Linked DNA regions of Homo sapiens: region 1 is linked to region 2. Evidence: promoter capture Hi-C in 16 types of primary human blood cells and fetal thymus (Javierre and others, 2016). All regions are on one chromosome and are shown on one strand. Each heading gives the region's core, a stretch centred on a gene start or on the middle of the fragment in contact. The rest is flanking DNA. Distances are from core to core; before and after follow the strand shown. Region 1 holds the start of DRP2 (dystrophin related protein 2). Region 2 holds the start of ARL13A (ARF like GTPase 13A).

The links. Contacts are between HindIII fragments. The CHiCAGO score rates a contact against its expected background, and 5 or more counts as called.
Region 1: the fragment with the promoter of DRP2 here is called in contact with the fragment with the promoter of ARL13A in region 2 in 5 of 17 cell types (non-activated CD4 T cells, erythroblasts, endothelial precursors and 2 more); the score reaches 8.7 in non-activated CD4 T cells.

The regions. Positions count from the first base shown.
Region 1 is chrX:101,218,161-101,221,275 of GRCh38, forward strand. DRP2 (dystrophin related protein 2) reads left to right here and starts at 1,626. Exons shown (of 24, transcript NM_001939.3): 1 at 1,626-1,986. The HindIII fragment of the contact is 8,546 bases long and covers 1-3,115 here.
Region 2 is chrX:100,967,575-100,970,965 of GRCh38, forward strand. ARL13A (ARF like GTPase 13A) reads left to right here and starts at 2,134. Exons shown (of 8, transcript NM_001162491.2): 1 at 2,134-2,235. The HindIII fragment of the contact is 2,181 bases long and covers 1,408-3,391 here.

The DNA of each region.
Region 1 (3,115 bases), core at 376-2,875, 250 kb after region 2:
ATGACCACAGTTATTAATGATGTATTATATGTATCAAAATTGCTAAAATAATAGATTTCTAATGTTCTTGCTACAAAAAAAATGATAAGTTGGTGGGATGATGAATATGTTAATTGGCTGGGCTGAATTTTTCTGCATAGTATACATAGATCAAAACATCACGCTGGAGCCCATAAATATATACAATTATTATTTGTCAATTAAAAATAAATAATAAAAATACTTCATAAAAAAATCACATAATAATTTTAAAATGGAACTGAAAAAAAACAGTAATTCTGGGTCCTTTAGACACTTTGTAAACACTAGTCCTAGATCCTATGTAAATACTAGTCCTAGATCCTATGTAAATACTAGTCCTAGGAAGTATTTTCTTTCTTTCTTTCTTTCTTTTTTTCTTTTTTTTGAGACAGAGTCTTGCTCTGTTACCCAGGTTGGGTGCAGTGGTGCGATCTTGGCTCACTGCAACCTCCACCTCCCAGGTTCAAGTGATTCTCCTGCCTCAGCCTCCTGAGTAGATGGGATTACAGGCGCACACCACCACGCCCAGCTAATTTTTGTATTTTTTTGGTAGAGACGGGGGTTTTACCATGTTGGTCAGGCTTGTCTCGAACTCCTGACCTTGTGATCCGCCTGCCTCGGCCTCCCAAAGTGTGGGATTATATAGGCGTGAGCCACCACGCCCGACCCTAGGAAGTATTTTCTAAGTTCCAGTGCCATCAGAGCTTATAAAATTTTTAGAGGCAAATCAGTGAACTTAAGCAACCCACTCCCAACCAGTCTTTGTCTCTCTCCATATACACCCTGTTCCCAGAGATGGAGGGAGGAAAGAAGAAAGCTGCTTTTATCCTTTGCTGTGGCCTGGGACTGCTGGGGCTTTAAATCTTTGTATGTTTGTGTAGGAGGGTGAGGATGGGGACTTTCTGACTGCTATTCATCCACCTATTCATTCAATTTACTCATTCAACATATATTTATTAAGTAACCTACTGTGTGCTGGGCACTTGGTAAAGGGATATAATCTTATCTATCCTGCCAGTGGCTTCTCCCAGGTCTCTGAGGGTGTTTGGAGCTCATACCCTCTTCTCTTTAACAAGCGTGACAGTTAAAAGAGTAAGGGCTGGTATGGACAAAAGCAGGAAGGTGCCTGGGGTAGTAGTCATTGAGGTGAGTCATGGAGGAGCTGTATTTTCCTGAATTATTCAAGATCCATTTTGTTTCCCCAATTTGTTGAGGCTTTTTCTACACGTGAGATCTAAGAGGGTGTGAGGATGAGACTTAGGGGTGACTGGCAGACTGTCCTGAGCCCAAAACTGTACCTTGAGTACCAGTGATGATTCCAGACCACAGTGTTTCAACCCTCAACACAGAAGCAGAATCCTGGACTGGCTACCGAGGGGCCCCTGCCAGCTGCTGGCTCCAAAGTTGGTTTTGTCTGTGGGCTAGATCGGTGTAAGTTGGGGTCCAGGCTGCTCGCTCAGCAGCCTGATTGATCTCCAGGGCTCTTTTGTCTCCTCCTCCCCAGTGGAAGCCTCTCCCCCTCTTCCCCTCTCCCCCTCTCCCCCTCTCTCCCTCTTCCCCCTCTCCTTGTCTCCTTCTCTCCCCCTCTGCTTCTCAGGCTCTTCCGCTTTCCTCCTCTGCTTCTAATGAATTGACATCTCCAAGAGCCGCCACATCTCTGGTAGTTTTACAAAACTGTCCTTGCTCTTCCTGCGTTTGCCCAGTCAAGGGTATTTTTGCCTGAGGTCGGAATGATGCTGTTAGTCCTGGTGATATGATTGCATAGCAACACAGAGCAGCTCTGAGAGGGGAGGAGGAGGAGAAGAAGGAAGACAGGGAAGTGGGAGAGACAGAGGGAGAGTGTGCATACAGCAGCTGTCGGCATCCCTGTCTCAGGGACTTCTTTGCTGATTCACAGAGGCAGCCCAGCCCCGGCCTCCCAGCTTACAGCTGCCGCCTGCTTCTCAGACCTGACGGAATCAGAAGGTAGGCCACAGAAAAATTATTTCCAAGCCTTGGCCTTGTTCAGCTGGCTGAGGGGAAATGACTGAGGGAGGGGAAGCTCCAGAGGTACTGTGTGGCGGGCGAGGGGTGGGGGGAGAGAGGGAAAATGAGTGTGTGTGTGCGTGTGTGTGTGTGTGTGTGTGTGTGTGTACGCGTGCCTGCCTGCGGTCTGCTTGCATGTGCCTTTAGTGGAAAACTTGCATTTAAAAATGCCCACAATAAAGTAGTCACCATTTAGATTCATAAAGAAAAAAAAAAAGATGCCCAAGAATAGAAACTCAAGCCGATTTGAGCAACTAAGGTCTAAAAATGAATAAGAAGGAGGTACACAGTTTGCTTCTTTGAGAAAAGAGGGGCATTTATTTATTTTAGGTTCTCAATAGCATGCTTTTTGTCCAAGGGTATACTTCTTGGCAGGAGGGAAGCAAAGGTGTGTGGAAAGCCTTGGCTAACAAGGGAGGAGAGAGGAAACATGGGACCTTGGAGCAGGTTCCCTGAACAAATGAGTATTCTGGCCAGCAGACAGGACACAGGAGTTCTTTGCTGAAGTAAACCAGGCTCTGACCTAAGAGCCTGGAGCTGAAGGGCTCATCTCATCTCTGTATTTACTTCCTGGCTCTGTTGTTTTTCCTGTGACATTTTTCCCCCTTATCTTCTCCCCTGGTTTCCTTTCTACACCCTGTAATCAGGAGGCATCTTTCCACTCTTGAAAGCATAGCTTGGAGTGGTTTCAAATAGGGCTTGCTTCTCTTGGAGTCCAACACCCTATCACCTTCTGCTCTCACCACCTTTCCCAGCATCGGACCAAGTGCCCCAGCCTAGTAAGTGGGCCTGAGACTATATGGGTAGTTAATGTTTATCCTTCCTTTGGTAGGCAGGTCGAGCCAGGCCTCACAGGTGTTGGGTCTAAGCAGGTGGCAAGGCTGGGCTGGGGTGGGGTGGAGTGGGGTAGAGGAGAACGTCAGCAGCAGCTGCTGCCTGCTTCCGTTGAAAGCATGGTGCATGCTGTCTGGAAAAGAACATACTTTTTAAAAATGTTTTCTTTTTGATTGTCAAAAGAACAAAAGCCTTAAAAAAGCTCTATGTCTAGTTCATCTTAATTCCTGACTTT
Region 2 (3,391 bases), core at 884-3,383:
TGGGCGACAAGAGCAAAACTTGGTCTTAAAAAAAAAAGAAAGAAAGAAAGAAAGAAAACAGGCTAGGATACAAGTTTGGCTATGGGCTTGGGGGAAAACACACATCAAGTCTGTTCTGGTCAAATAGATACATAAGTCACCCTAGCTGAAGGCCTGGTCTGTGATCCAATTCAAAATTTAGAATTAAGAGTAAGTATGTGGGCCGGATGCGGTGGCTAATACCTGTAATCCAAGCACTTGGGAGGCCAAGGTGGGTGGATCACCTGAGGTAGGAGTTCAAAACCAGCCTGGCCAACATGGTGAAACCCTATCTCTACTAAAAATACAATAATTAGCCGGGCATGGTGGTGTGCGCCTGTAGTCCCAGCTATTTGGGAGTCTGAGACAGTAGAATTGCTTGAACCTGGGAGGTAGAGGTTGCAGTGGTCTGAGATCGTGCCACTGCACTCCAGCCTGGGTGACAGAGCAAGACTCTGTCTCAAAATAAGAATAATAAAAATTTTTAAAAACCTACAATGATGAGAGTATGTCAGAGGGAGGAGTCAACTGAAAGAGCTCCCCAGGCCAAAGTTGGAACGACTTGAGCAAGAAAATAAAGAGGTATTGATTATAATCAGAGGATAAAATAAATATATGTGAGCCCATACTGTATAAATGAATGATTTAATAAACAAATGTGTAAGAATAGACAGACCCCCCCCCCATACAGAAGAATTCCAAACAACTTTTGTAGATACTCCACCTCAAGGAGGTGGAGGATAACTCCCCATTCTATAAGTATGGCCAATGCATACTGATTTCCTTCTAAAGAGTACAGGATAGAAAGTAGGGGGAGTATCTTTACAGTGGAGAAATCTGATAAACACTGCCTCGGCCAGGTGATCAAGGTTAACATCATCAGTGATAAGTCATGTTGACAGCATGTATCCTTGATATGATGTGATGAGGATGGCACGTTACCTCTGTGGCCTTCCTCCCAAGAACACATAACTTCAGTCTAATCATGAGAAAAACATCAGATAAACAACAAGTGAGGGGTATTCTACAAAATACCTGATGAACACTCCTGTCAAGGTCATCAAAGACAAATAGAGTGGCTGGATGTGGTATCTCATGCCTATAATTCCACCCCTTTGGGAGGCCACAGTGGGAGGATCACTTGAGGCCAGGCTTCAAGACCAGCCTGGGCAATATAGCAAGACCCTTCTCTAAAAAGAATAAAAAATAAATTAGCCAAGGATGGTGGTGCATGCCTGCAGTCCTAGGTACTTGGGAGGCTGAAGCAGGAGGATTGCTTGAGCCCAGGAGTTTGAGGCTGCAGTTAGCCATGATCACACTACTGCACTCCAGCCTGGGCCACAGAGCCAGACCTTGTCTCCAAAAAACAAAACAAAACAAAATCTGAGAAGCTTAAGTTAAAAACTAAGGAAATCTGAATGAAGTATGGACTTTAGTTAATAACAATGTATTAATACTGGTTCATTAATTGTAACAAATACAGCATCGTAAGATGTTAACAATGAGGGAAATTGGGTGTTAGGGATGGTTACTCACTGTACTGTCTTAGCAATTTTTCTGTATATCTAAAACCATTCTGAAAAATAAAGCATTTTATAAAAAGTTCACTAAGTATGATACAGTTTGGCTAGAAGAGATAGAGATACGCAGAGCAGAGGCAGTTTCTCTGGTATCTGAGGTCTGCAAGACCTTTGACCTAATACAGACCCTGAAGCCAGAATGCCTAGGTTTGAATTCTGGCTTTACCATTTATTAGCTAGGTAACCTTTGGCAAGTTATGTAACCCCTTTGTGAACAACTTCATCTCTGAAAAGTAGGAATGATAGCCCCTACTTTGTCATGCTGTAGTAAGGATTAAATGAATTAATGTGTATAAAGTGCTTTAATGAGCCCTGGCACAAAGTAAATTCTATATAAATATTTTGTAAAATGAATAAAAACTATGATGACTTAAAGTTCCTTTAGTAATTATCTATAATCATACAAGGTAAGGAGATATGAGTTTGGTTGCTATGAACCAGGTAGTGGTTGCCACAGACATGTCAGTACCGTGACAACCATTATTAGGACATTGCCATAGCTTTTATAAATGGACAACCTAAGCTGTGTTAATCTGACAAGAAGGCTAGAAAGCTCAATGCGTCTTCCTATTACTCTGCATATCTTATGTCTTCCATCCAAAAAGAATCAACTTATCAGATAAATAACCACCTCATGGTAAGCAAAATATGTCACTATCTTCATTTTACAGATAAGAAATTTGGAAATGGTAGGTTTAGTTGAGGTGATTTCACTTCAGGCTACCCAGAAGAGGCACTAGAAATAAAGGATCAGTCCAGCAATCCCTAATTCAATCATTTTCCCAGTTGGGTTTTCATACCTACCCTTCCTTATAAAGGAAGAACTTGTGTGATGCCAATTTGACACTTCTTGGTGGCACTGACAAACACAGAGAGCCTGACATCAAGTTAGAAGGCTCTGCCAATTATTAGGAAACAGACATGAAGCGGTTACTGGCCTCTTCTCCAAGGGAGATGGCTATCAAGGAACCCAGACAATTAGGCTCTGATGTTTCAGGCTCCTGGTCATATCAGCTTCATGTGCAAAACTGGAGTAAGGCTGGTTTTGATCACAGGCCATATATAAAGTTTCTTTTTTGTCTGGCATAAGCCAGAGCCATTCTCCAGGAGGTCCTTATGGGAAACCTAATGATCTCCTAGGGTCTGAGCTGTGCTATAAGAAATGCTATGAAATGTTAGTATTTTGGAATGGCAACTCTCCAGAACAGTAAATGACTGGATGACTCTGCAGAACCCTGATAAATTATCCATTGATAAGCTGGCACATAAACTGTGCTCATCAGATAGCTAAGCAAAGCCCATCGAAGCATTAACTGAAGTACTTTGCTAACCCAACCAGGGCTTCCTCCAATTTTGGGCTTCAACATACAGTCGTCCCTCAGTAAACTCGGGGGAAATGGGTTCCTGAACCCCCTCATATACCAAAATCTGTGCATTCTCAAATCCTGCAGTTGGCACTGCGAAACCCATGTATATGAAAAGTTAGCCCTGCATATACGTGGGTTTCACATTCACAAATATCCTCATTTGGTTGAAAAAAAAAAAGCCTGGTATAAGTAGACTCATGCAGTTCAAACCCATGTTGTTCAAGGGTCAACCATAATTAGTCATTAGGAAAATGTAAATTGAAACCACAATGAAATACCTACCTCACACCCACTAGGATAGCTGTAAACAAAAAACAAGCATTACTGGTGGGAATGTAAGATGTTGTAGCCACTTTGCAAAACAGTCTGGCAGTTCTTCAAGAGGTTAAATATAGATTTATTATATAACCCAGCAGTAATACTCCT